Regions from separate parts of the Homo sapiens genome. Here regions 2, 3, 4, 5 and 6 are each linked to region 1. Evidence: promoter capture Hi-C in 16 types of primary human blood cells and fetal thymus (Javierre and others, 2016). All regions are on one chromosome and are shown on one strand. The core of a region is centred on a gene start or on the middle of the fragment in contact, and the rest is flanking DNA. Distances in the headings are between cores, read along the strand shown.

Region 1 (4,929 bases), core at 670-3,169:
AACACATGCCCAATGGGAATGGTTCTCTGCTGGGGTGAGGGAAGGGGTCCAAAAGTAACGTAGAGTAGACTGACTTCTTAAACCTTAAAACTAGAAGAGGAAATGTATAGACAAAGTGTTCTCTTAGATGGGGCAAAAGTGACTTAATTTTGGACTATGTAAAAAGAAAAGGCTTTGGCCGAGGATGCCTTGAAAGGTTTCTCGTTGATGTTTGTTTGTAATCATTCTTTGGAATAAACAGCACGGGGCAAGGGGGCTTCTGAGCTTTGTGTGCAGGTTTCGATGGGCCTCTGCTGCACTTCCCTCAGGCTGCTCACCGGGATATCGATTTTTTAATTAGTGTTGTGCTGGTTATCATTTTGACTTGGCTTCTCTTCCACAGCCATTAGAAAACAACAGCAAACCAGAAGAGGACGAGATAATCCACCTAAGCAGGACTACTTGAAAAGAAGCAAGTGTGGAAACTATGAAGCCTTGTAATAGATTTTTTTTTTTTTGATGAACTGCCGATCTCTTCAAAATAGAGTCCTTGCTTTCGTGCCCCGCAAAGAAAAGTACACCACGCCAAAGCCCAAGGGAGGTGGCTAAGGTTATACAGGGAGGGAGGGGAGTGTAGCTGGACTGGGGAGTTGGAATAGCAGAAAAGTCACAAGTCAAAGAGGCGGCCCCTTCCACACATTCCCAAAGTGCCAAAGGGAAAACAGCAACAAACTCGAAACTCGCGAGGGCGTCTTCCCGTGCGAAGCGTCCCCTGGATCCCCGAAAAGCCCCGATCCCCTCGCGCTTGGGAAGGGGTGGGGTCCTCTTCAGGAGGTGTTTACTTGGCGTCCGGGGCGCGGAGACCCTCGGGGCCGGCGCCCGGCACAGGTCCGGGGCGGCGTGGTTGCCGCCCGCGCCCGAGTCTCCCTGGCTCTTGACAGCCCGCCGGCCGCCAGGTGCTCGCCCTACCTGGCGCCCCCGCCTGCCTTTGTGCGGCCCGCGCCGCCCCTCGCCAAGGCGGGCCAGGGACCGCCCCCGCCCGCGTGCCGCTGCCAGGCGGGACAGCTGCGGGCGCTGCCGGGCAGCGGAGCGGCGGCGGGGAGGAGAGGGAGTCGGCGCGAGGGTGCCCGGGGCGGGGCGGGCACGGCCGCGGGGAGGGCAGGGGACGCCGCCAGCGGCTGCGGCGCGAGTCTCCGAGCACCTCCCCTGCCGGCTGCGCCCCCCACGTCCCAGCAGGAGGAGGGGACCCCCTCCCGCGCCGTGCCCCTCGCAGCCGATGCGCCCACACCCTGGCTTCCGACAGCTGGCAGCCATAGCAACCCGGCCACAGAAAGTTTCGCGACGCAGAAACCGACTTGGAATAAAGTTTTCCTTGGCCCCTCGCTCGCTCTCCCCCGGCCCGGGTTTACGGAAAGCGGCAGGAAATCAGAGCTCGCGACGTGCCGGCTCCCGCGTCCACCTTCTCCACCCCTGGCCCCGGCAGCGCGCCCAAGGTGGGTGCACCACGCCGGGGTTTCCTGCCCCGTCCCCGGGTCCGGCGTCCTAGGACGCGGCGCGGCCAACTCACCATGGTGACTCGCGCCGCGGTCGCGTCTTCGCCGGGTCCCGCTGCCGGGGAACTGGGGCTGGAACGCAGTCTTCTGGGCGAACTTCAAAAGTTGGTTCCCCTCGCCAAAAACAGGCTCCCGACACCCAAGCACTCACAGGAGCCAATGGGAACCCAGAGGGGACTCCATCCAGGCGGGATTGGCGGTGCTAGGTGAGGGCGAGACGGCGGCGACTTAGCAGGCGGGGCGCATGCTGCGGAGGGCAAGAGTCCACTCGTACTCGCCGGTCGCCGCCGGCCCAGGTGAGTCCGATGCGCTCGGAGCGTCCGCCTCGCTCCCCTGCCTCACTCCTCTTTCTTCGGCCACTTAATCCGTACTCCTCTGGCTGAGTCTCGGCTCGGGCCGGGCAATCTGTCCATAAATGGAGAACTCAGCTCAGGCCTGACCAATCAGGGTTTGTTTTCGTAGCGTCACTCCTCAGGGAAACCGTAGTAGCCAACAAGCTTGGAGCTGCTGGAGTTTCCAAAGATCTCTGGATCCTGTAGTCCTCCTCCCGCGCCAGCCACCGAAGAACGCTGCGGACCCAGCTCGCTCCTGGTAGCAAGACCCGAACTGTAAGGAACAAAACCCTCGTGAAAGAGGAGCAAACCTTTCACTTCGCTGCGTTTTAAGACGAAAGTTAGGGTGGGTTTCGCTTCCAAGTTGAAGGGGCATGATTTTCCCAGAACTTTTTTTTAAGAAGGAAATATTTTATCAGCATAAAACATCAGAGTCGTGGCAGCAGCCCAAAGGAAATCCTTTTTCTTTCCTACGTCTGGATTGTGAGCAAAGTCAAAAATATCATTTCCCCACCCCTCCTTTTACCTGAATTTCCTTGGAAAACAAAGGAAGACTTCCGGCTGCTTTTTCTTTTCTTTTTTCTGTTTTTCTTTTCTTTCTCTTTCCTTTCTTTCTTGTTTCTTTTTTGCACGTTTTGATGGCAGAAAAGTTGTTGCACGTGCAGTGGGCAGAGGGAAGGAGAGAGGAGAGATAGGTGGGAAGAAACCCCATCCAACCTCAGCCAACACATCTGCTGAAAACAATCAGAACTGTAAAAATGCATTATTCCAGACTGTCGAATATCCAAGGAGAAGATTGGGGTGGGGCGGGGTGGGGGGAAGCAGAATCTTAAAATCAAGGTAGGGAGTTTGATTTTATTGTTCTGGAGGCTGAGGAAGTAAATTTGGTGAGTCTTAACAGGCTGCCTTCCTGGAATCTGTAGAAGATAAAATTGGTAAACTTCAGGGCATAGAGAAACTATGAAGCATAATGATATTATGATACTTTCTGAAATTTGGTTGAGGCAGGGCGCTGTGGCTCACGCCTACAATCCCAGCACTTTGGGAGGCTGAGGTTGGTGGATCACGTGAGGTCAGGAGTTTGAGACCAGCCTGGCCACCAACACGGTGAAACCCCTTCTCTACTAAAAATACAAAAATTAGCCCGGCATGGTTATACATGCCTGTAATCTCAGCTACTCGGGAGGCTGAGGCACGAGAATCGTTTAAACAGGGGAGGCGGAGGTCGCAGGGAGCCGGGATCGTTCCACTCTACTCCAGCCTGGGCGACAGAGCAAGATTCTGTCAAAAAAAAAAAGAAGGAAAGAAAGAAAGAGAGAGAGAGAGAAGAAAGGAAGAAAGGAAAAAGAAATTTGGTTGTAGCTCTTCACTTGACTATCTGAGCATAGAGTTAGAAAGGGTATTAAACTTTATCTTGTCTAAAAGGGTAAACAAAATGTTACAACATGGATGAATCTCGAAAATATCGTGTTAAGCCAGGAGCAAAAGACCACATATTATATAATTCCATTTAAATGAAAGTTGAGGATAGGGAAATCTATAGAGATAAAAAGTAGGTTAGTGGTTTGCTAGGGGCTGGGGGAGAGGGGAGATGGAAGTAATTGCTAACAGGTATGCATTTTCCTATTGAAGTGATGAAAATATTCTGGAATTAGTGGTGATGATTGTACAAGTTTATGAATATACTAAAAACCACTGTGTTATGCTTTTTAAATGGGTGAGTCTTATGGTACGTTCATTATATCTCACTTTTAAAAGTTGAAAGAAAATCATATTGTCCAAATTCTTGTAGTAATCATTTACATAGTTTGGCAACAATATAATCGAATGTGTGTTATAAGACAGCACAGCTAAACACTGGAGCTACAACTGGTCCCTGCCCTCACTGAGCTTACAATTTTAGGATGGGGAAAACAAACGATAAATTTTTAGAAAGAATAAATACAGGAAAGAAGCAAGCATAATGAAATGCGACAGTAGTTTTGTGCAAGGAACTGCCATATTTGGAGCTATAGTTTAGGGCAGGAAATTCATCTGACATAGTTATGTAGTATGAATTGGAAAGAAAACAGCATGCCATCTGTACTAGGCATTGCCTAGGTACACACAGACATGATAAAGTCTCAGATAAGTCTGACTCCATATCTCATAGGGAAATATCAGCTTCAGAATATTATTAGGTCAGCCAAGCTCAGTGGCTCATGCCTACAGTGCTAGCGCTTTAGGAGGCCAAGATGGTAGGATTGCCTGAAGCCAGGCATTCAAGACCAGCCTGGGCATCATAGCAAGACTCTGTCTCTATCAACAAATTATAATAATAAAAATTAGCTGGGCATTATAGTGCATGCCTGTAGTCCCAGCTACTTGGGAGGCTGAGGCAGGAAGATCATGTGAGGCCGGGAATTCGAGGCTGTAGTGAGCTTTGATCGTGCCACTGCACTCCAGCCTGGGCAACAGAGTGAAGCCCTGTCTCAAAACAACAACAACAACAACAACAACAACAAAACCTATCAGGAATTTTAGGAGTGTATGAACAGAGGTTACCAAGACGGAAGTGTCAGCTTACCAGTAACACAAGAAACACTACCTAAGACACCATCCCATCCATGGTCAACCCTCATTAGTAGTCAGATTGACATGGGCTTTGAGATGTACAGACAAAGGCATAGTTTGTTTCCCAAGATTAGCCCAGGTATACAATGAAACACTGAAAATCTCTTAATAAGCCATTGACAGTCGACTGACAATTGATCAGTCTTGGATTTATCAAAAACTACCTTGAGACTATTAGTCCATTATATCATCATTTCTGATTTTTTAAAAAAATGTTTTAGCGTTTACTTTTATTGCCCTAATAATCTATAATCTCTTCCAAGTTTCAAGAGGTACATCTAACTGTAGTAGGCAGGACTTTGATGAAGATGTATGCTTGTGTTCATTTTTTATAATATATATGAGATTTTATATGTACATATGATTTATATATGATTATATATCATTTTATAATATATATGAGCATGAGATTATTATAAAGTCATATATATATATAAAAGCAGTTTTTGCCG
Region 2 (4,929 bases), core at 818-3,317, 440 kb before region 1:
AGAAAGCTTTACAGAGTAAACATGTACTTAATTATAAACATGTATATATATCATATGTAAAATGCTACATATGATAAATTCAGGGTGGTGGGATTACGGGTAATCTTCACTTTTTTGTACTTTTCTGGATTACCTTTTTTTTTTTTTTTCTTTGAGTCAGGGTCTTGTTCTGTCACCCAGGCTGGAGTGCAGCAGCACCATTTCGGCTCACTGCAACCTCCTCCTCCCAAGTTCAAGTGATTCTCCTGCCTGAGCCTCCAGAGTAGCTGGGATTACAGAACATGCTACCACACCTGGCTAATTTTTGTATTTTTAGTAGAGAGGGGGTTTCACCATGTTGGCCAGGCTAGTCTCGAACTCCTGACCTTGTGATCCACCCACCTCGGCCTCCCAAAGTGCTGAGATTATAGGTGTGAGCCACCGCGCCTGGCCAAATGTATGTTTTAATGGCTGCGATAAAAGGGCTAATTTTGTGAAATGAAAATGACATATACAACCTCTGAGGTTGGACAGTATTCCAGCAAGGTTCAGAGGCTTTTCAACACAGCATCAATGTGGTAAAGAATAAAAGGATGATGCAATGATTCATGTGTTCTAAAAGTAAGTATATTTTACATATCAATGTGTAAGGAGAAGCCATTATGCTCTTGAGAGAGGCACCTTTAAAAAAAAGATAAAAACTATTAATCCCTGATATACCTGCTTCTTACAAAGAAATATGCAATTAAAATAGGCACCAAAAGAGATATTTCTTTTTTTTGTTTGTTTTCTGTTTTTTGAGACCAAGTTTCTAAAGATGAACAGATTATCTAAAGATGATGATCTTGTTGCCCAAGCTGGAGTGCAATGGCGCAATCTCAGCTCACTGCAACCTCTGCCTCCCAGGTTCAAGAGATTCTCCTGCCTCGGCCTCCCAAGTAGCGAGGATTACAGATGCGAAACACCATGCCCAGCTAATTTTTTGTATTTTTAGTAAAAACGGGGTTTCACCATGTTAGCCAGTCTGGTCTCAAACTCCTGACATCAGGTGATCCGCCCACCTCAGCTTCCCAAAGTACTGGGATTACAGGCGTGAGCCATGCGCCTGGCCCAAAAGAGGTATTTCTAAAAGCAGTTAAGAAAGCCCCAAAAAGGCCCTCAGTATTCATTCAACAAATATTTTTTGAGCACTTATTACGTGCCATGCTCTACACCAGGCATTACAGAGACAGAGGTAAATGAAAAACTATGTCCTGGCCTTCAGAGCTTTCAGCCTTTCAGGTACCTAAGAAATATCTATAACAATTATACGCCCAAAGTCCTCCTCAATGCCACAGTTCTGATTAAAGTGTTACTTAACATCTGAACATACTACAGCTGGAGGAAAAAAGCTAATTACAGTACACTATGATACTGTGTTATATGAAATGTGCTTTATATGGCTGATTACTACATTTAATTGATACCAGTTTTAGAAAGCTTTACAGAGTAAACATGTACTTAATTATAAATATGTAGTCTGTGGTATTTTCCACAAAAAATTATACATTAGATGTTTGGCCAAACCTATAACCTCAAAATATATTTGTTTCTATAGAAGAAAAATCAGATTGTACACATCATTTTTAGTCTTTTTAAAGCTGCCAGGTATTGCAAATTAGTTTTAATGTCGGTAAGTATTGCATTACATATAGTTCTAAATACTGTACTGATTAACCACATCACTTTTGCTGAAGTTAATTGGTGACTTTAAAGGTTGAAATTTTAAAAGAAAAGGATATGCCAGCATCAGGTAAACCAAAAGTCTTTAAATCTATAATCTCTAAAACAACCTAATGAGAAGTTAGCTCTACCTGTTTAACTACTTTTTAAACACACACCCAATTAATATAACCGTAAACTTCAATGGGTGAAGCTTTCTCCTAAGTTACTTATTTAAAAGTTCATAACAAAGAGAGTGTGAAGACTCAGGAAAGCCATTCTAAGATACAAACATCTACTCTATTAACTACATGTAAAGGAATTTTATAAATATGTTGATATAAATGTCAGAGCCCACTATAACATTATCAACATTGTTTGTGCTTGTAATAGCTGCATTTAAAAAATATTCTAGGAGAAACTTAAAAATGTAGGTTCCTTTCCCTCTAACCTCTCTAAATAGAATCATTTTAACATACATTTTTAAAAGAAAGTTACCCTATAGTTATTTTATAAAAGAATAAGCTCAATGTTTCACCAAAGTATTTTTTCCATACCTATGAAGCTTCTCGTCATTTAACTTTTATTCACTACCTTAATATTGTCATAAGAATCATTTCTTTTCCTGACCAGCTATTATATATTATGTCTCGCTGATGTCTACATAATTACCTCTACGTAATCCCCTTCTTGGCACTTTTCGTTTTCTAATAATTTGTGCTGAAGAAAAACGATACTGATTTCCTATGAGCTTACCTGTTGCTTCCTTAAACATCATTTTAGTTAAACAGAAAGCATTTTCTTCTCATTTTTGTCTATATAATTATTAAATTTCAGAACTAAAAGAGCCTTACAGGGGACCTAGTAAAATTTCCAGTTTTACAAAAGAGAAAACAGGCGCACTGAAGGAAAAGTGGCATAACCAAGATGAAATTATTTTCAATGTAGATACCAGTAAGTAAAACAAGATCTGGCAAAAAGAATTGAATGTAGTAATTCAGCAACTTGATTGAAAAACTGATTATCAGCCAGGTGCGGTGGCTCACTTTGGGAGGCCGAGGCGGGAGGATTACCTGAGGTTGGGAGTTCAAGACAAGCCTGACCAACTGGAGAAACCCGTCTCTACTAAAAATACAAAATTAGTTTGGAGTGGTGGCGCATGCCTGTAATCTCAGCTACTCGGGAGGCTGAGGCAGGAGAATCGCTTGAAACCGGGAGGCGGAGGTTGCAGTGAGCCGAGATCACACCATTGCACTCTAGCCTGGGTGACAAGAGCGAAACTCCATCTCAAAAAAAAGAAAAGAAAAGAAAAACGGACATCACATTAAAACAATATTTAATATATCCTTGGTTTTCAAATCTGTTCATTATTGATATTTTAATAAGTTTCCCTATACAAATTTGGTTTCTAAAAGTTATTATTTAAACATCTTAATTCTTTTTTAAAATAGAGATAGGGTCTCACTATGTTGCTCAGGCTGGTCTTGAACTACTGGACTCAAGCGATCCTCCCACCTTGGCCTTTTGGGATTATAGGCATGAGCCACTGCACCCGGCCTAAAATAATCTTATCACTTTGTAAAATGGCAGAGAAAACATCTCTGCCATTTTAGAACTCTGCCATTTTAGAAGGCTAGAACTGAGTTGGTATGACGCATTTAAGCAAAACTGGCTCTAAAGATGATCAGTAGCGCTTGGAATTTGAGACAAGAGCATTCTTTAATAAGTAAACTGGGTTCAAAATCTCTCATATTAAAAATAATAAAAATAAAATAATTGAATCAATAAGCATCTTTATTGTAAATTAATTCAAACTGTTTGGAGTTGGAGATTTACATTATATTCTTTGTAATTCACAAGATTTTCATAACAATGATAGCCGGATTTCAAGAAGACTAGAGCTTTTTGTCATGCATCTCTTAGAATGAGGCCTGCTACAAACAAATGATTGAATGTTACAACTTCTTTTTTTTTTGAGATGGGGTCTCATGCTGGACTGCAGTGGAGTGACCTTAGCTCACTGCAACCTCCACCTCCTGGGTTCAAGCGATTCTCCTGTCTCAGCCTCCCCAGCCTCCCGAGTAGCTGGGACTACAGGCACGCGCGCCACCATGCCCAGCTATTTTTTTTTTTTTTTTTTTTGTATTTTTAGTAGAGATGGGGTTTGGCCATGTTGGCCAGGCTGCTCTCGAATTCCCGACCGCAGGTGATCCACCCGCCTCAGCCTCTCAAACTGCTGGGATTACAGGCGTGAGCCACTGCACCCGGCCCCCAAATGTTACAACTTCTAACTGAATACCTTAAGACCTCTTAACATCAGAGTTATGGAATAAAGTTCAAGTATAACCCATACAAAGAAAAAAATTAGCAAACATACTGATAAAAATAAATAATGTTTACTTATTTAAAATGTTGTGGTGGCACATGCCTGTAGTCCCAGCTACCAGGGAGGCTAAGGTGGGAGGGATCACTTAAGCCCAGGAGTTTGAGGCTGCAAAGAGCTAGGCACCACTGCACTCTAGCCTGGGCAACAGAGCAATACCCTATTAAAAAATATATATATATATCATATATGATATATATACACCTATATATAATCTATATATCATATATATAGATATATATACCTGTCATAAAATGTATTGAAAAAACCCTTAAAATTTTATATTGCTGAAATTATTTCTAATAATAAGAGATAAATGATGTTCCTAGTCAAAACTGAAAAAGGGATATACAGAGAAATTAAAAGTAGGTGAGAAAGGAATAAATCATGTTTATTTTCAATGCTAAAATAATAGTCAACTCAAACAACCTGGGACTATGATTAATACACAGTACCTGTCAAACTAGCACAGCATGCTAGGTAAAAGATATGAATCAAAACTACTGCAAGACACATGGTTAATTCCTGATATACTTATTTCTGAATTTCTATCGTTTTCCATTTTGAAATAGCCTCTGGTTTGTTGGCAGTCTTCTCATGACAAGCTTCTTTAAATACAGAAAATGTATCTCTCAAAGTGATACACTGAGTCAGAGTTATCTTAAAAGCTACCTTTAAGATAACTTTTTTACTTCTCTAAACTACATCCCCACCTCTCCCAGGGAATGCTTATTAGCCCTTTTCAATTTCCTTTGGCACAAACAGGGGACTCTCCTAACCTAGGAAGACTTAAAATAGTGAGTTGTCCTCATCTCTGATACCCAGGTGTGCTTAAGATCAAAATTTAATATTCCCTTTTCAATATT
Region 3 (4,929 bases), core at 1,073-3,572, 370 kb before region 1:
TGCCTCCTGGGCTCAGGCAGTCCTCCCACTTCAGCCTCCCAAGTAGCTGGGACTACAGGCATGTACCACCACACTTGGCTCATTTTTCTATTTTTAGTAGAGACGGGTTTCACCATGTTGTCCAGGCTGATCTCAAACTGCTAGGCACCCGGCCCATTTTTAAGATTATGAAGGACCTCAGGACCGGGCCTGGTGGCTCACATCTGTAATTGCAGCACTTTGGGAGGCCGAGGCAGGCGGATCACCTGAGGTCAGGAATTTGAGACCAGCCTGGCCAACTTGGGGAAACCCTGTCTCTACGAAAAATACAAAACAGCCAGGTATGGTGGCGGGCGCCTATAATCCTAGCTATTCGGGAGGCTGAGGCACGAGAATTGCTTGAACTGGGAGGCAGATGTTTCAGTGAGCCAAGATGGCACCACTCCGCTCCATCCTGGGTGACAGAGCTGAACTCCGTCTCAAAAAAAAAAAAAAAAGATAACTGCTGCTGCAGAGAATTAACCAATTTTTGATGGTAGATGAGCCCACTATTCTCCTTTCATCCCATCTTTCAGTTATGTCAGAATTTTTGATTATTTTAAAGAACAATTCAGCAAATGCCTATTGAATGCCAAATATGTGTTCTAAGCTTTTGGGCACATAGTAGTGATCAAAACGAAATCTGCTCTGGTGGGGAAACAAAGTTGTAGATGGTCATTGTGGAAATAAGTGAGCTGGAAAAGGAAGATAGAGGGTGGGGTTAACTTTTTATTTTTTTGCCTTTCCACAAAAATTTTAATGTTGGTATTAACTACTAATGTGAGGTGGTCAGGGAAGGTATCATGGATAAGGAAACATTTGAACACAGATGTAAAGGAAGTGAATGAGTGAGCCTCGTGGTTATCTGGGGGAAGAGCATTCAAGGCAGCGTGACTAGCCATAGCATGGTTGACCTGCTTGAGAAATAGCCTAGAAACTACTGGGGCTTTAGTGGAGTAGGTGAGGAGGAGAATGGTGGTCTCTGAGAACAGAGGTATGAAGGGTTCATGTTCTTCAGTTATATGAAATATTTACATTGCCTTTGATAACTTCTTAGCCATTTTTTACCTCTCTTCTCTTTTCTGGATTTCCTGTCAATCAGGTAACAGGATTCTATTGCCATCTCTACTTTGCCTGCTATTAGTTCCTATTTTTGTTGTTGATTAAAAAAAAATTCTTTTTACTATCAGTTTAGTGGGGATTGGAGGGAGATTTGAAATAAAGGTCTTGTATAACTTACCATGTTTTTAAAAAATGTGAACTTTTGCTTTTGATAATCATGACAGTTTTACCAGGAAAAAGTTATATTAGTGACATGGAAATGGGCTCTCCACATTTGGCGAATAGGTTCACTTTAGGAAGACTAAGTCTATTTTGACAGCTAGGTTCTTTAATAGAAAATACTTAATACTTTTATTAAGTGAAGAAAATCATGTGATATAAGATTTGTTACAGAACACCTACAAAACATACATTATCATGGGATTTTATTTTATTTTTTATGAAATCATGTTTAAAGAACTAAGTACAGTAGTCCTCCCTTATCCATGAGGGATACAGTCCAAGACCCCCAGTAGATGCTTAACAGCCACAACATGCATACCTATTATAAAGTTTAATTTATACATTGGGCAGAGTAAGACATTAATAGCAATAACTAATAAAAAAATTTATAACTATATTTAATAAAAATTGTGTGAATGTCATCTCTCAAAATATTGTACTCACCTTTCTTGTGATGACGGAAAATGATGATAAAATGGCGAAATGAGGTTAATGACATGGGCACTGTGTAGGCATTCATAAGCGGTTAAAGCTTGTGAGCTGTTTATTTCTAGAGTTTTTTCTTTAATATTTTTGGACCATGGTTGACCATAGGTAACTGAAACCGTAGACAGTAAATTGTGGTTAAGGGGAGACTACTGTATAGTGTTGGTTAAAACTCACCATTCTATTTTCTTGACTATCTTCCCGCCATTTCTCTGATGTATCCTTATCCTTATTCTCCACTTGAAATTTTACTTTTAAAGATCAACTCTTAAACTTCTTTCAGGTTTTTCCTTTAGAATTAATAGCTGTCCCTTCCGTTTTCCCATGGTATTTGGTACTTTGTTATTTGTAGCAGTTACCATGCTTTATTAGAACATTCTTATGTGAGGGACAAGTTCCTGAAAATCTGCATGGTAAATACGGGAAGTACGGTTGAGTAACATATGTAATAATCTTATGTAAAAGTAGTCATGGGAACTGAAGTTCTGAGTGAAAGCCCTCATAACTGTGCATTTAATTAAAAAAAAAAAAAGAGAGAGAGTGACCAAACTCAACAACTTAGATAGTCATTTAGATCCAGGCTTTGCTATCAGGTCTTAGGCAAGTCACTTCTGTAATCTTCAGTTCCCTATAGTTCTTAGTAAAGATAAAATGAAATAAAAATGTGGCACACAGTTCCCTACAGGCTCTACCTGATCTGGCCCTGACTACTTCTGATGTCATTGTGTGCCATTTCCCTTTCCTTCCACTTCCCTTCTTTTAGTTCTTTGCACCTGTTAGGCATATTCCTGTCACATAGTCTTTCCTATTTTTTCTCTCCCAGGAATACTCTTCCTCTAGAATTGTGTGGCTTGACTGACTAGTGGCTAGTTTCTTGTCATGATTCATGTCTTTAGCTTCTTAGAGAGGATCCTGTTGATGGTCAACCTTTACATTTGTTTTGTTTTCTTTCTTCCTTTTTTGTGATAAGATCTCATTATGTTGCCAGCGCGGGATTGCAGTTGGCTATTCACAGGTGCTATTAAAGCTTACTGCAGCCTTGAACTCCTGGCCTCAAGTGATCCTACTGCCTGTTTAATTTTCTTTTTTCTTTTTTCGAGACAAGGTCTCACTCAGTTTCGCAGGCTGGAGTGCAGTGGCTCAATGTCAGCTCACTGCAACCTCTGCCTCCTGGGCTCAAGCGATCCTCCCACCTCAGCCTCCTGAGTAGCTGGGACAGGCATGTACCACCACACCCAGCTAAGTTTTTGTAGAGACATGCTTTTGCCCTGTGGCCCAGGCTGGTCTGGAACTCCTGAGCTCAAGCCATCTGCCCACCTTGACCTCCCAAAGTTATGGGATTACAGGTGTGAGCCGCCACACCCGGCCTTTTTCTTTTTTGAGACAGAGTCTGGCTCTGTTGCTCAGACTGGAGTGCAGTGGCATGATCCCTGCTTACTGCAACCTCCACCTCCTAGGCTCAAACCATCCTCCCACCTCAGCCTCTCCAGTAGCTGGGACTACAGGTGCGTGCTACCACACCCAGCTAATTTTTTTAAAATTTTTTGTAGAGACAGGGTTTTGCCGTGTTGCCCAGGCTGGTCTTGAACTCCTGAGCTCAAGCGATCTGCCTGCCTCAGCCTCCCAAACTGCTGGAATTACAGGTGTGAGCCACTGCACGTGGCGTATTTTCTTAATAGCACGTGTTTCGCTCTAAAATTATCTTGGTTTTTTGGTCTCATTTGCATGTAATTTCCATGAGAGCAAAGACTTTCTATGTCCTGTTCGTGGCTGATGCCAGTGCCTAAAACAAGTGCCTAGCTCATTATAGGCTTTCAATAAATATTTATTGAATGAGAACCATAAATGAATAAGTGATAGCTAATGTATTGTCAGTGATACTGTATCTTCTAAAATATTAATAAGCTACTGTAAAATTAATTTCTCTTTCCTGATTGACTTTTCTTGGTTTTGTTCTCATTCCAGATGCTTGGGATGGAAGAAGTTTGAGTGACCTATCCTGTGTTTATCCTCCTTGCCGTAGCTGAGTTGATCTTTTTGAAACCCTCTTCCCAGACTCTTGGATTTATTTATTTTATTCCAGTGTGAATGCATGTTTTTTCCCTCATAGATGGCAGTTCTGGATTAGCAGTTTTAAGGTCTCAACTTTGTTTTTAGTTATCTTCCTTTAACAAGCTTCAATTTAAAATACTCCTTCTTTTCTCTCCCAATTATCTTTACTGATCCTTAGTTGTCTCTTTTTATTATCTCCAACAGAAGGAACTTGCTGTTTAGGTTTACTGAAACTAAAATTCTGAAGATTGCAAAAAAGTATATAGGTAAATGTGTGTAGATGAGACTTAACGTGTACAAGAATTCACATTAGGATTAAGGTTACTATTTTTATCTAGAATATGAAATTTGTTAGGAAAGGGTAGCACCTTACTATCTTTTTATCACCTTGATCAGTGACGTACAGTAAAAATTCAAACCATAAAAGGTTTGTTAAATAAAGTAGCTGACATCAGTATGCAGGATAATGAATTCTTGGTTTCCCCAAACCAGTATTCTAGAGTTGTTTAATATCTTGGTGTTTTTTGTTTCTTGTAACAAGAATTTTCACTTCACTGTCTGAATATACTGATCCAAGGAAAGCAAAAATGGCATTTAGTCAAAGATAACCTTGGAAATCCCTAAAGTTGCCCAAATATACATTATAAATATGCAGTCTCTGGAAGTCTAGCACTTCCCGTTTTCCCTCCACTATTGGAATAAATCATGTTTTCATTGTTAAATATCAGAGAAAGAGTAGGTTTGTGTATATGGCCTATAATATGGGAAAAATAAATGGCTCTAAATATTAGAATCTGACAGCATAGTAAGATGCTCACATTCTGAGAGACACTTGGGAAGTGAGACCCAGTGGAGAGCAGCAAAATTTAATCTCCTATTTTGTGTTGATTCTAGGCATATAATCAGTGAGCAGAAGGGCAAGCATAATCTCCTACATGGTTTAAATTATTTTTTTCTTGTCAAGTTCACTTTATGGGCTTGATGTCTATCTAGAGGTGTTCTCCCAAATTCCAACTTTCAGTATGCCTATACTGTCAGCCATTAAAGTGTCAGTAAGTCTTCCTGGTTTTCCTCTTACAACTCAAGTTC
Region 4 (4,929 bases), core at 1-2,500, 320 kb after region 1:
GTTTGCAGAAGTGGATCTGTCATACTTCCGGTCTAAGCCCAGCAGTATTAGGCTGCACTAGAGAATATGAAGACTAGGAATAGAGTTTAGAGAAAATGTAAACCAAAAAGAACTAAGAATATGTGCAAAATGATCAAGAAACTAGTCTGCAGGGGTAACTTAATTGGGTAAGGTCAGTTGTAACTTTGAGGAAACATCCATTTACAAATTACAGAATTTGTTTCTACAATTGCAGAGATTCCTATAAAATGTTAGAAAAACTACATTTAATTGAAAATACGAAATCAGGTATTAGGTGAAATAGAGATCCTAATCAAGAGAAGGTGAGAATGAAAAAAGCAACACTAAAATGCAATCACATAGTTTATTCAATTAAATAAATAGGAGGCACCGTAACTATCTTGATGCAACACCGGAAAAGCTGTTTCGTCAAAGAGCTCACAAGACACAGACAAGTAACTCTCCAGCGGCATGAAATGCATCCAGAAATCCAAACCATTTTGCCAGGTATTTAAACAGAAAGGGTTGTGTCTAGATTCACGCGGGGACTCGGCTTTTGACGTACACACTCTGTATTTGGTTTAGCGTACTAGGGAAGATCTATTAAAGCCCTGATTACTTATGCTGCTTCCGTGTCTATTCCCCGCGGTTACGAGGCATACCAGAAGTCCAAGTTTCTTTGTTCTGTACCAGGACGGACGCTGGTCATAAATACTGAACCATCGTAGCCCAGCCACTTCACCCACACCAGGGTAAAAGGGTGGGGGAGCGGAGGAGGGGCAAGGTTCCATCCCGAGCACAACTACCAGAAACGGAAAAGCGACGGGGTGGGGGGCCAAACTGCCAAATACAAACAGGACCCAAGCCAAGGGCGGGGACCTAAGCAGGGCGGGGATCCAGGAAGCACCTCCCGAGCAGGTTCTATGGCTCCCCCTACCAAGGGTAACTCTCTGGGTTTCCTCTCCCCGGACGTCGTGGGCACGCGCCCGACAGACTTTCGCCCCTAGGCCGGTTCCCAGTCCAGCTCCGGAGCCACCGTGCCGAGTTCTCCCAGGCCGCACTCACCCCGGAGGAAGCCTTGGCCCCCTCGTCCTCTTCGCCCCTCCAGGCCGGCGACGTGGGGCTGACGGCCAGGTCGCAAAAAGCAGGGCCGAGCGGAGCCCGCTCCCCTCGGTCGGCGGTGGAGACCCCGGCCCAATCCCCCGGCCGCAGCGGTACGGCGTCGGCGGCAGCAGCTGACCCGGACACAGTGAGAAGCCCCGGCGGAAGTGATAACATCCCGACCTCCTCCGGGCGCGGCAGCCGGCGGTGGAGGCGGCGGGGGCGTGGCGGCGGCGGAGGCGTGGCGTCTTCTTGAAACCCACACAGCATCCCCCCAACCCCCTCAGACGTCACGGGCTAGCGCTCGCGCCTGCACTCGCGGGGTCGGCCTTCCTTGCCTGTGGGCGGACCCGTCGCGTCGACTCCTTATTGGTGGCGTTACTACGCCTCAAGGCGTTTCTTCCCTCTTTGCTGTTCGCAGGGACGCTGCCTGGTAGTTTCAGTTACTTTTGTTTTCTTTCTGCCTGCCTTTATTGATCATTACAGTAGGTGAAATTATCGATATCAATAATAATATTGTAATACAATAGGTGCAATTATCAATATCAATATTATTACAACAGGTGCAATTATCAGTATCATTACAATAGGTGCAATTATCAGCGATCAATAATGTGAATTATAAAATGGATGAAATAAGGGGAGGAGGTCGGGCGCGGTGGTTTACGCTTGTAATCCCAGCACTTTGGGAGGGCGAGGCGGGTGGATTACCGGAGGTCAAGAGCTCGAGACCAGCCTGGCCAACATGGTGACACCTCGTCTCTACTAAACAAACAAAAATTAGCTGGGCGTGGTGGCGCGCGTCTGTAATCCCAACTACTCAGGAGGCGAGGGCGGAGGCGGAGGCGGAGTTGGAGTTTGCAGTGAGCCGAGATCGTGCCATTGCACTCCAGCTTGGGCAACAGAGCAAAAACTCCGTCTCAAATAAAAGGAAAAAGGAAAAAAAAAAAAAAAGAAAAAGAAAAAAAAGAAATAAGGCGAGGAAAAATATCCGAGGCATCATTTTGGGGAGTTAGGCCTCAGAAGCGACCTTAGAGTTTGGTAATATTTGAGTGTGAAAAGCTTTACAGCAGTGCTTCTCTTCACTGGGGGAACGGTCGGTTTATTTTTTTCAATTTTCAATTAGTTTTTGACAAGTTAATAAAACAGAAAAATGAAAAGACATACAAAGTCCAAGTCAAAACTTTTTATCGTTAGAGTTAACAGCCATAAAATTACCTGCAAAATTGACATAGAGTTTTCTACTCTCTCTCTGTGAACCATTTGCAAACAGTTCTCAGAAGAGCCCAGGTCTATAGACCATGGTTAGAGTACTCAAGGTAAACTACTCAAATTAGACCATACTCAGCTGTAGAGTTTCAACCAAATGAGATTTGTTTGGAGAACATCATAGTCTCTCTCAGTTGGGCGTGCTGGCTCATGACTGTAATCCCAGCACTTTGAGAGGCCGAGTCGGTAGATCGCCAGACCTCAGGGCAACATGGCGAGACCCCATCTCTTAAAAAAAAAAAAAAAAAAAGAGACAGAGAAAGAAAGAAAGAAAAAGAAGCAAAGAGAAAGAAAGGAAGAAAGAAAGAAAAGAAGAAAATTAGGTGGGCTTGGTGGCATGCACCTGTGGTCCCAGCCACTTGGGAGGCTGAGGTGGGAGACTCTCTGGAGCCTGGCAGGCGGCGGTTGTAGTGAGCCAAGATCGCGCCACTCCACTCCAGCCTGGGTGACAGCGAAACCCTGTCTTAAAAAAAAAAAAAAGTCCCTTTCCAAAGTTTCATCTGATAAATCCATAGAAAGGCTCAGCATCAAGTATTTGGGTGATTCCATTGGGGTACGATCAGGCCTGAGGGGAACAGAAAAGCTCAAAATTTTAAATCATTGACTAAAAATGCAGCATTCTGCCTGGATTTCACATTGCTTTGGCAACATTTACCCACCATTGGTAGATTAAAGTCCGTCTCTTTGATAAAATGGGAAGAAAATAGTACCTACCTTATAGGGTTTTTGTGAGATGAATTCATATATATGTATTAGGACCTTGGTTGTCATATTGTAATCACATTTAAGTATTAGGTATTCTTTTTATCCTAGTCTAGCAATTTCACTAAATAGCTAGTAGAGAAAACAAAACTGATCAACAGAGCTTTAGCTAAACAACTACTTGGGCCAAGAAATTTCATCTTGATTTACAGAAGTTTTTGTAGTTTCATACTTTGCTTCTTCAGTTCTGCAATGTGCAGAATTCCCCACAGGGTGGCAGAAAATCACTGGAAATCATATATAGTTATGTGATTTCTTTTTTTTAAGATCTTCAGTTCCTTCTTCATTTTAGTAACTTTATTATTTAATAAGCTTGATCAGTGTTTGCTTTGGTTTCGAGTAAGCCATCCTATTACTTATCTTTTTATCCCTATCTTGTTAATTATCCATACTTATTGTTGAAACATTACAAACTACAAGTAAGCCAAAAAGATAATTATTATTAACATATTTATGTATAGCCTTTCAGATTATATATATATATATATTCACACACATATATATTTTATGTATAAATTGCACATATAAGTCTTTATAAAAATCAGATAATGTACTTAGTGGTTTATAATCTCCATTTTCTTCTTTTCATTTAAAATATGAGCTGGGTGCAGTGGCTCACACCTGTAATCCCAGCACTTTGGGAGGCTGAGGTGGGTGGATCACCCGAGGTCAGGAGTTCGAGACCAGCCTGGCCAACGTGGAGAAACCACGTCTCTACTAAAATTACAAATATCAGCTGGGTATGGTGGTGGGCACCTGTAATCCCAGCTGCTTGGGGGTGCTGAGGTAGGAGAATCACGTGAACTCAGGAGGTGGAGGTTGCAGTGAGCCAAAATCACACCATGCACTCTAGCTTGGGCAACAGAGTGAGACTGTGTCTCAAAAATAAATAAATAAATAAAAATACAGATTCTGAGGCTTCACCCTCTACAGTCTATGGAAAGATATGGGAATCTATATTATAAAAATAAATAATTAAAATATATTATGAACTCTTTTTCAAGTCAATAAATACATTCCAATGCTATTATTTTCATTATGGATAATGTATATATTAAACAATCCTTTATTGAACTTTTAGATTGTTCCTTTTTTTTTTTTCTTTTGAGACAGGGTCTCACTTTGTTGCCAGGCTGGAGTGCAGTGGCATGGTCTCAGCTCACTGCAGCCTCCACTTTTTGATTTAAGTGATTCTCGTGCCTCAGCCTCTGGAGTAGCTGGGATTATAGGCATGTGCCACCATGTCTAAGTTGTGTACTTTTGGAGAGACAGGTTTTTGCCATGTTGCCCGGGGTTGTCCTGAACTCCTGGCCTCAAGTGAACTCCTGCCCACCTTGGCCTCCCAAAATGCTGGGAATACAGGTGTGAGCCACCACGCCCGGCCTTGTTCAATTTTTTTTTTTTTTTTTTTTTTTGAGATGGAGTCTCACTCTGTCGCCCTGGCTGGAGTGCAGTGGTGCGATCTCGGCTCACTGCAATCTCTGCCTCCCGGGTTGAAGTGATTCTCCTGCCTCAGCCTCTCAAGTAGCTGGGATTACAGGCATGCACCACCACGCCTGGCTAATTTTTGTGTAGTAGCGACAGGGTTTCACCATGTTGGTCAAGCTAGTCTTGAACTCCTGACCTCAGGCAATCCTCCCGCCTTGGCCTCCCAAAGCGCTGGACAACACTTCATAGGTGTTCAAAAAGTCAGAAACATAGGACTAATTTATTTTCAAACAATGTATTAGTAACATTTCGAAATAATATTGCTCAATATATTTTCCTTTGACTTCCACATACTGTCTTAGGTAAGTG
Region 5 (4,929 bases), core at 1,149-3,648, 280 kb before region 1:
TACAGGCACGTGCCACCATGCCTGGCTAATTTTTGTATTTTTAATAGAGATGGGGTTTCACCATTTGGCCAGGCTGGTCTCAAACTCCTGGCCTCAAGTGATCTGCCCACCTTGGCCTCCCAAAGTGCTGGGATTACAGGCTTGAGCCAGGGCACCCAGCCTGATTTTCTAATCTGCAGAAAGATTATACTAATTCTCTACATCTGATTTAAGCAGGTTCAGATTTTGTAAAGTGCTAAAGGACAAGTTCAGCAAAACATACATTGCGTTTGCTGTTTGTATTACATACTTGTTATATAAATGGTACAGAAAAGGGAATAGTTTTGTGTTGTTGTGGGTAGAGGCACTGCAGGAAAGCTTTCAGAGAAGCTTTCTGGTACATGTGACTTCTAAGCAGACTGGATTATGGAATGGTGCTCTTGCAGAGGTTACAGCATGTAAAGATGTAGCAAATAGCACAAGCACTGGGAACTCCAAGTAAGCTGGTGTTTCTAATTTTAGGAGTGAGGGTCAGGCAGCAGTGAGAAATAAAACTGTTCTACCAAGAAACTGGAACTCAGGAACCATTGAAGGGGAAATGTCCTGATCAAATTTATGATTTTAGAGTTATTTAATCAGATTATAGTTAGATCACCTCCTCAGTTATGTGGAAAAATAGATGTAAATGTGGGAAACCAGTTAGGACATTATAGTAGAAGAGGTAAATATTGATGAATGCCTGAATGAAGGCAATTGTAGTTGGCATAAAAATGATGATACACATTTGAGAGATATTTAGGGTTTGGGTGAAGGGGTTAGGTGAGTTAGGTCTTGGATGTACTGAATCTCTATGAAAGTTGAATGTCCAATAGGAAGTTAAGCCTGTGGTCTGGATTTCCAAAGATATTTGGGTTAAAGATATGTTTTGATCTGTCAGTATATGGAGGTAATGAATCCATGGAAGAGGATTAGGTTTTCAGGAAAAATGTGCAGAGTGACAAGAGGGTGAAAAAACCTTAGAGAATGACAATACTGTATTTAAATGATAATACTATGCTTTGAACAAAGGATTCTGAGAACTGGCTTGAAAAGTTGAGAAACACAGTTAAAATAATATCAGAAAATACAGTTACCACTTGAACAATGCAGAGGTTAGGGGTGTTGACCCTCCTCACAGTCGAAAATCAGAGTATAACTTTTGAGTTCCTAAAATCTTAACTACTAATAGTCTATTGTTGATCGGAAGCCTTACTGCTAAAATAAACAGTTGATCAACACATATTCTGTATGTTATAAGTACGTGATAATGATAGTCTACAATAGATAATGATAGTTTACAATAAAGTAGAAAAAAATGTTAAGAAAATTATAAGGAAGGGAAAATACATTTACTATTCGTTAAGTGAAAGTGTATCATTATAAAGGTCTCTTTCCTTATTGTCTTCACATTGAGTAAGCTGAAGAGTAGGAAAAGGAGGGATTCATCTTGCTGTCTCTGGGGTGGCAGAGGTGGCAGAAAATCTACATGTAAGCAGACCCATGCAGTTCAAACCCATTTTATGTTGTTCAAGGGTGAACTGTAATATGGTCAGTATGGTGTCATCACAAAAAAATAAAGTTTGAAAAGTATTGAAAGCATTTGGCAGTAGAGTGGTTATTGGTCTTTTGTGTCAGAATGGTTCAGTAATGGTGAGTGATGTAGATGGGGCACCTCTTAGATTACGTACGGTAAGGAAGTGAAAACATGGAGACAGTGAATATAGCCTTCTTGCTTTATAAGCTTGGCTGTGAAGGGAAAGTGAAGGAAACCCCTATTTGGTTGGCAGTAATTCCAGGATTAGTAGAGAATTTAGGTTTGGAAAAACTTAAGGTATTTTCAGGTTTAAGACAGAAAACCATTAGAGAGGAATTGTTTGAAGATATTGAAGAGAGAGAGGCTTGGTGGGAAGTAGTGAAGTAAGCATGACCCAGGGTGAACAGGTGAAGGGAGGAGTGGGTGATAAGGATTGAGTTCGAATAGGAGAAAAGCTCATCCATAAAGGCTGGAGGAAAGAGACTAGGGAGGAGAGGCTTTTCAGGGTAAGTGAAGATTTAGATAATTTGGGATGCAGGAGTTCCTTTCCGATTTCTTTGAAGATGTTTAGGAGGTTGGGTTATCTGCTGAGTAGTAATGATCTTGGTTATAAGAAAAGTTGTAAACAATTTAAGTAATAGGCTATTGAAGGTTAAAAGTTATTGCTTATTTAAATTCTTTTCCACATATGAAGTGTCCGTTAAAGCTATAAATTCTGCTTAAAGTATGTTGTGATTCAGTGTAGGCTAATTAAAAAGTAATGTCAGAGATTTATTTATAAAGATGGAAGAATGGTGCTGTATCTCAGAAATGCCCTTTCCTAATACTCTCACTATGCATGGCAGTTATGATCTATACAGTTGCTGCAAACACTGAATTAGCAAATATGGGACCCTTGCAAACCTCTGTTCACAACTAATCAGTGTATAACCTTTTTTATGTGTGTTTCTGCTTAAAGACAACTTTAAAAAATATTGTAGAATCATTAACATTGAACTCATAGCCAACAACACTGTAACTCATGCGTGAATGAAACTTATTCTCTCCATAAGGTGTATGACAGCCTTCTTTGCTTAGGAACACTAGACAGCACTTCAGCTCTATGCTTGGGTGCCATTTTAAACAACACAATCACCAACAAAAAGCACAAAACTGTGAAAAACGTGGCACTAAACAGTCTGCAAACAAGACACTGGTTTATAGTAGGAGCTCAAATACGGCAGAGCCCTGTTCTACCTCAGCTGGGAACAGAGTTGCATGTTGGGCAACTGCAATTTTTTGCCACCGGTCATATCCACGAATGACTCTGAAAGCACAAGTGTTGATTATGGGGTTACAAGTAAATTTTAGCCTGTGGGTCAGTTCACACATATGTAATCCATAAATAATGAAGATTGACTGTAACTAACAAAAAATTAGAAAACAGTGTTAAAAGTTTCCCTAATAGAATCAAGCAAAAAAGGCATAGGGTACTTTGGCTGTTAGGAAGCTTAACAGAAGTGAAGTAAAAAACTTATCTTGAAGTCGAATTTTGTTGGAAAATTGTGTGCATTTTTTGTTGTTGTTTTAATAAAGCTCTCTGAAATGGACAGGATCTTAAGACAATTTTACTCTTTTCAAGTTTGAGCTACTAAGAGCCTCAGGCTTAAGTTTGGGCATTTTGGAGAGTTAGGTTATATTTTAACAGAAACCTAAACCTGTTACAGAATGCTTAGTTGGAGTTATGTATTCTTATTGAAGTCAAATTTTATGAGCAGTTGAATTGAAAACATTGAGGGTCTTGAATTATTCAATGTTAACAGTAAATCACAAGTCTATTCTTAAAATTGATTTAGCCTATCTCTTCTGTTGAAATAGGTTCCTGATATGGCAGGCTATCCTCACATCCGTTACATTTCATCAGGATTGGATGGAACATCATTCAGAGGTCCTTTCAGGGGCAATTTTGAGGTATGTAATAAAATAAATGAATATGTTTGTCACAGTATCTTTAATGCAGATTGAGTATATATATACTACTATACACAATTGTGTAGGACTGCTACAGTGGCTGGGAATCACATGTGATTTTCTGATGTTGCTTCTGGGAGTTACAGAAATATTTGTAAGTATTATTAATCTTAGGGTCAAAAGTTACCGAAATATTTAAAGATGAGTAAATGAAAATATCTAATATAGAAGAATATAAAAATGTATTAAATCAATATAAATGTCAGATATATAACTATACCATTAAATGTGGTGGGGAACGGAATGTTTTTGACTCAGCTAAATTTTTAGAGAAATCGGTAGAGAAAAAGAAACTTAAGTAATTCCCTTTGTAGCTAAATGTCTTGTTTGAATTTTCAGGAAGAACAAATCATTCGAATGGGATTTAAAGTTTTGTTGTGGTTTGTTTTTTTGTTTGTTTGTTTGTTTGTTTGTTGTTGTTGTTTTTTTAGATGGAGTCTTGCTCTGTCACCCAGACTGGAGTGCAGTTGCACAATCTCAGCTCACTGCAACCTGCGCCTCCTGGGTTCAAGCAATTCTCCTGCCTCGGCTTCCTGAGTAGCTGGGATTACAGGTGCCCGCCACCACGCCCGGCTAATTTTTGTATTTTTAGTAGAGATAGTGTTTTGCCATGTTGGCCAGGCTGCTCTTGAACTCCTGACCTCAAGTGATCCACCCACCTTGGCCTCCCAAAGTACTGGGATTACAGGCGCAAGCCACCGCACCCGGCCCCCGTTGTGTTTTTTTTATGTCAGTTTGGAAGTTGGAGTCATTGTGACTTAGAACTATTGTTTGATTTGGTTCCTTAATTTACTAGAATTATTTCATCTTCTCCATACATACATACATACTGACTTACATAGTACCATGTGATAATATTGTTGTAATTTATAAAGATAACTTTTGCTGTACCATTTCAGTTGGCTGAGGAAAACATGATAAACAACCATTTGCCTTACTGTCTATGAGAAACATTAAGTCAGGCATGGTGGCTCACACCTGTAATCTCAGCAGTTTAGGAGGCCGAGGTGGGAGGATCACTTGAGGCCAGGAGTTTGAGACCAGCCTGGGCAACATATAAACTGTTTTATATATATACTTATATATAAGTAACCACTTGTCATGTGTAAGTTTTTTTGAACACTGTATTTATATTGCAAGTTTCTAAGTATGGAGGTTTATTTCTTATACAATGTTGACAGTTCTGTTCAAGGAATAATCATCTTGGCTTTTACCAGTCATTATATTCTTCACTTTCAGGAACTGATTCATTTGGAAGAAAGATTAGGCAATGTCAATCGTGGAGCATCCCAGGGGACAATTGAAAGATGTACATATCCACATAAATACAAAAAGGTAAGAATTTATTCTATGAAACTTCTGGAGTG
Region 6 (4,929 bases), core at 683-3,182, 260 kb before region 1:
GGTATTTTTCCTGTGGGCTTGAATTGTACCGGGACCTACTTTTTTCCTTTGCCGAAAGCTAGAGGGCCCTGACACACCTGAGTTCCATCATCTTGGCTATAAGGTTAGATAAAAGCTGCCAATTTTCCTATCCAGATGAATTTAAATTGAGTCACATTACCAGGCTTCTACCCATAAGCATTACATTTTCAAACACTTTTTCAGATTGGCAGTTGCTGCTGGAAGAAATTGAAGTGTGACTTTTGAGAATCCTAATAGATTGAATACATTTAGCATTTAATTAATATCCTTTTGTGGATCTAAGTCCAACTGACAAGTAATTTTTTATAATAATGTATTCTATAACGTTATTTAATAGTCAAAACCTTTCTGTTCAGGGAAGGCTTGAGTTTCCCTGGCCCCTCTCTCTGCCTGGTAGATCCACTCAAACCCCTTGTTGGGAGTTTTATTAGAGTCGGGACCCTGAACTCTCAGGGATAGGACATGCTGGTTTTTTGCTTTTTTCTTTTTTAATGAAATGTTTATCACTTCTATAATAAACTTTTTTTGGTATGAGTTGCTTTTCCTAGCAAGTTTTATTTCCAAGCACATTATGTCTAAAGCAGGTTAAGGTCAACTGACAATTTTTATTTCATACAATTCCAACCTTCCCTGAGTTTGGGAGCTAAAACTATATTACTCAAGAAAACTACTTCCATTCTAAATGTCCTTAATATAAGAGAAAATCCATTCTATGGCAACCTCATTTTAAAAAGCTGTAGTTCTAAAAGATCATGCATACAGGAGCATTTCTTATTTGTGAAATGGCATAAGAATCAAAGCTAGTTTAGGTTTTAAACATCTGGTTTTTAAACAACCAGACCTATTATTAACTATTAATATTATAGCTTTATTATTTTTCATCTTAATTTACTTTTTACCAAGCTCTGTAAAGGAAGGTTTTTAAATATATGCCTTTAACTTGCAGGGATCTCTAACAAGTGATATGGGTACTATATGAGAAATAATCATTAAATACTAATAAGCTTTGAAGTTCTCTTACAGGCCCACTTGAATACTCAGAATAGCTTTGCAAGGTTAGTGGGAGGATCTTTATTACGGATAAAGTAGATGGGTGATTTGCCTAATTTAGAGTGATGTTATTAATCACAAATAGCATTTTTAGACTTCCTGAAATGTACCTTTTCCATCTTGCAAATAGATCTTGACGTATTGTCCTTTCCCAAAGCAATTCTAAATTTGAGTATCTAACATTAGCAAAGTATTTCAAATTCTTTCAAGGTTTCATTACTTTTTTTTTTTTTTTTCAGGTGTCCAGTGATTTGGAGAATATTGACACAGGAGTTAATTCTAAAGTTAAGAGTCATGTGACTATTAGGCGAACTGTTTTAGAAGAAATTGGAAATAGAGTTACAACCAGAGCAGCACAAGTAGCTAAGGTAACAATGATGAAGACTGAATGTGAATACAGAGGCCGATTCTGTATAGTGCTGAGTCCCACAACGCTGGCTGTCTTGCGCTATTCATGTTTCTTTTTCCTTATAGAAAGCTCAGAACACCAAAGTTCCAGTTCAACCCACCAAAACAACAAATGTCAACAAACAACTGAAACCTACTGCTTCTGTCAAACCAGTACAGATGGAAAAGTTGGCTCCAAAGGTAGGAAGTTCTGAATTTACAAACGTATTTAATGAGGTAGCCTGTTTTTAGCCAGACTACAAGGGTGCCTTTATCATTGCTGTACCTTCTAACGAACATTCATAGCTGGAGCTCTGCTTTGAAGCAATAGTGTAGGAAATGAGTATATACACCTTTTAACTTAATAACATTATGACCTTGAAGCTGGGCATGGTGGCTTATGCCTGTAATCTCAGCACTTTGAGAGGCTGAGGCAGGAGGATCGCCTGAGGCCAGGAATTCAAGGCTGCAATGTGCTATAATGGTGCCACTGCACTCTAGCCTGGACAGCGGAGCAAGACCTTGTCTCTGAAAAAAAAAAATAAATATTACGACCCTGAATAATAAAGTTGATTACCTTAATACCCAAATAAAGGACAGAATGGTTCAGAAAATTCATGGAATGAGTGAGATTTTTAGGGGTAGAGAGAAGATGATAGCTGACAGGAAAGGGCACGTTTGTGGAGAACAAAGTAGCAACAAAGATCAAGGTACCAAAGCGGATATGGACCTATAATCATGTCCTTTCGTTAAGGAGTCTGAAAGACTTAACTGAGTCAGGCGGCTTGAGTGAGGAACCAGAAGATAAGGCTGGGAAGAAGGTTGCAGTTGGATTTGAAGGACTTGGAATTTGGATTTTTATCCCATTAGGCTTGAGGAAACAAAGTTTTGAGGAGTACCGAAATGATGAAAACAATGTAGGGAGGTAAGTTAGGAGGTATTGCACTTATCCAAGCAAGAGCTGATGAGGGTCTGGAGCTAGCCCAGATCTTCCCTAAGCGCCTACCCATACACCAGTATCAATAGTGGGTATGAAGAAACAACATCAAATGTGTTAGGATGTCTCAGAATGTCTTTCATCTTGTATTTAGGAAAGAATACTTTGGACACATGGCTTGCACTGCAGGAGTGGTATCCTTACCCACTTGGATATTAAATAAACCATTTATGCAATAAATGAACAAAAAGTAGGAAAGTCAGGAGAGGGCGGTAGCTTTGGTAAAGGTATCCTGTTTGGCTTCCGATTTGTTGAGGTAACCGAGGGACATCTGCCTGGAAATGCAGTTGGAAATGTGGCAGCAACATCTGAAGGCAAGGAACAGATTTGTCAGCTTTCTTCACAGAGATGATGGTTGAAAGCTCTTTGCTCTTTATGAGAACTAAAGCTTAGAAAAAGTAGTTGAGATGGGACTTCATTTAAAAAGCCTTCCCTAGAAGGTTTCTATAACAGTGACCTCCTGAAAGCCAAACCCAAAGGCTGGTTTTCAGACCTTGATCTCTTAGCAGTTGTGCAGTGTTTTACATGTGTAATGGTTTGAATGTGGTTCCTCCCACATCGCAGGAGGGCGATTTGGCAGTATATGTATATATTTTTGGGGGGGGACGGAGTCTTGCTCTGTCGCCCAGGCTGCAGTTCAGTGGCTCGATCTCTGCTAACTGCAACCTCCGCCTCCCGGGTTCAAGCGATTCTCCTGTCTCAGCCTCCCGAGTAGCTGGGATTACAGGTGCATGCTACCATGCCCAGCTGATTTTCACTATGTTGGCCTGGCTGGTCTCCAACTCTTGACCTCAGGTGATCCACCTGCCCCCGCCCCTCAAAGTGCTGGGATTACAGGTGTGAGCCACTGCGCCTGGCGGTAGTATATTTCAAATGGTTATTCTCCATACCCAGTAGCTTTGTTTTTTATCCAAAGAAAATGATCAGAGGGATAATCAAGTACTTTTAGATAGTGCTATGATGAGTGTCTCTTATAGAGTAGAGAAATACCCTAGTTAAATCCATTTAAGGAAATACTATGCAGCCATAAATATCATGTTTTAGTAGAATATTTAAAGGCATCAAAATGCTTGTAACATTAAGTGGAAAAATCAGATTATAACAATATATAAACAGTGCAACCCCAGATTTGCTTTTAAAATGTACATTTGTATGCAGAATATTGATGGTAGTTATTTTTGAATATTATGTTGGACTTAAGATTGACTTTCATTTTCTTCCTTAAAACGTCAAACTTTGGCCGGGTGCAGTGGCTCACGCCTGTAATCCCAGCACTTTGGGAGGCCGAGGCGGGCGGATCGCGAGGTCAGGAGATCGAGACCATCCTGGCTAACACAGTAAAACCCCGTCTCTACTAAAAATACAAAAAATTAGCCGGGCGAGGTGGTGGGCGCCTGTAGTCCCAGCTACTTGGGAGGCTGAGGCAGGAGAATGGCGTGAACCCTGGGGGCCGGAGCCTGCAGTGAGCCGAGATTGTGCCACTGCACTCCAGCCTGGGCGACAGCGAGACTCTGTCTCAAAAAACAACAACAACAAAACAAGAACAAAAACAAAAAACTTCAAACTTTTACCATGGGTACATATTACTGTTCAAGTTAGAGAAGAAGAAAAGAAGGCTTTTTTTTTTCTTTTTTTAAAAGCAAAGACCATAAATATGTTACTAAAGAAACAAAGGGAAAAATAGTTTCCTCCTGTGACCTCCATAACTTCATCCTTTTTGTGTTTCCTTTACTCCTTGGCTGACTCCTTTTTCTCTTGCTTCCTGGCAAAATTGAGGCCACTGTTTGAGATAAAGCATTATGGACCCGTAGCTCAGTTCATATAAAAATCAATTCCAGGGTTGAAACATATAGCTACATGTTCTAGATTTAGAAGTTATGAGGAATTAATGAACAGGAATTATTTCCAATTCAAATACATTTCCCTCTGAGAAAGTAGTGAAGGAATCTCTAAGTCCACGATTTAGGTAGAGTCCCACCTTCTAGCAGGTGAGTCTCTCTGCCTGCCTGTCTCTGGTCAGCCTTCTGGCTTTTACTTTGTCATCTGCTTTATCTGCAGGGTTATCACTGTTCTTTAGAGCCAATCCCTGGAGGTGTGGAAATGCCACTTGAGTGCACAGGTTTCTATCAATTTTCCTGGAAAGGTGATAACATAAGCCATGTGTCCATGATAGGAGATGTTCCCAGTCTTCTAACCAAATTTATACTATCCTTTTTGCAAAACTGGAGGGCAGGTTTCTTTCTCTGTAGCAGTTGACACAACTGAATCACAAAGTGCCCTGGCTGAGACCTCGGAAGAGTTCCAGCCCTTTACAGGTAGTCATAGAAGCTTATTATCCTGCAGGTTTTGGAGAAAATGGTGTTTTTTGCTGATTAATGAGGCTTTGGTAAACACAGTAGTTAGAAAGGACATGGAAGGCTTTCTACTAGTCCCATGTTTGCTGGACACTGGGGAAACAAGTTGAATAAACCATC

The links. Contacts are between HindIII fragments. The CHiCAGO score rates a contact against its expected background, and 5 or more counts as called.
Region 2: a fragment that was not itself captured here is called in contact with the fragment with the promoter of MYO1E in region 1 in 1 of 17 cell types (total B cells); the score reaches 6.3 in total B cells.
Region 3: a contact is called between a fragment that was not itself captured here and the fragment with the promoter of MYO1E in region 1, in 2 of 17 cell types (M1 macrophages and M2 macrophages). The highest score is 6.4, in M1 macrophages.
Region 4: a contact is called between the fragment with the promoter of BNIP2 here and the fragment with the promoter of MYO1E in region 1, in 1 of 17 cell types (monocytes). The highest score is 5.2, in monocytes.
Region 5: a fragment that was not itself captured here is called in contact with the fragment with the promoter of MYO1E in region 1 in 3 of 17 cell types (naive B cells, M2 macrophages and total B cells); the score reaches 5.8 in naive B cells.
Region 6: a contact is called between a fragment that was not itself captured here and the fragment with the promoter of MYO1E in region 1, in 2 of 17 cell types (M2 macrophages and M1 macrophages). The highest score is 5.6, in M2 macrophages.

Annotation. Positions count from the first base shown.
Region 1 is chr15:59,370,952-59,375,880 of GRCh38, forward strand. It overlaps MYO1E (myosin IE), which reads right to left and starts at 1,920. Exons shown (of 28, transcript NM_004998.4): 1 at 1,547-1,920. The coding sequence starts at 1,549. RefSeq lists a silencer at 865-1,184 and enhancers at 1,200-1,703, 1,704-2,208. The HindIII fragment of the contact is 5,897 bases long and covers 1-2,027 here.
Region 2 is chr15:58,926,480-58,931,408 of GRCh38, forward strand. All of the region lies in intron 2 of SLTM (SAFB like transcription modulator), which reads right to left. Among named protein-coding and RNA genes, the nearest start is that of SLTM, 4.7 kb to the right of the region's middle. RefSeq lists an enhancer at 903-1,402. The HindIII fragment of the contact is 351 bases long and covers 1,893-2,243 here.
Region 3 is chr15:59,000,249-59,005,177 of GRCh38, forward strand. The region is part of intron 1 of RNF111 (ring finger protein 111); the gene reads left to right. Among named protein-coding and RNA genes, the nearest start is that of RNF111, 15 kb to the left of the region's middle. The HindIII fragment of the contact is 981 bases long and covers 1,833-2,813 here.
Region 4 is chr15:59,688,070-59,692,998 of GRCh38, forward strand. BNIP2 (BCL2 interacting protein 2) reads right to left here and starts at 1,251. Exons shown (of 10, transcript NM_004330.4): 1 at 1,066-1,251. RefSeq lists an enhancer at 957-1,605 and a silencer at 1,019-1,528. The HindIII fragment of the contact is 5,510 bases long and covers 1-2,161 here.
Region 5 is chr15:59,086,258-59,091,186 of GRCh38, forward strand. RNF111 (ring finger protein 111) reads left to right here. Exons shown (of 14, transcript NM_017610.8): 11 at 3,410-3,502; 12 at 4,802-4,897. Among named protein-coding and RNA genes, the nearest start is that of CCNB2, 16 kb to the right of the region's middle. The HindIII fragment of the contact is 1,282 bases long and covers 1,758-3,039 here.
Region 6 is chr15:59,106,012-59,110,940 of GRCh38, forward strand. CCNB2 (cyclin B2) reads left to right here. Exons shown (of 9, transcript NM_004701.4): 2 at 1,311-1,439; 3 at 1,546-1,659. Among named protein-coding and RNA genes, the nearest start is that of CCNB2, 3.3 kb to the left of the region's middle. The HindIII fragment of the contact is 1,818 bases long and covers 1,024-2,841 here.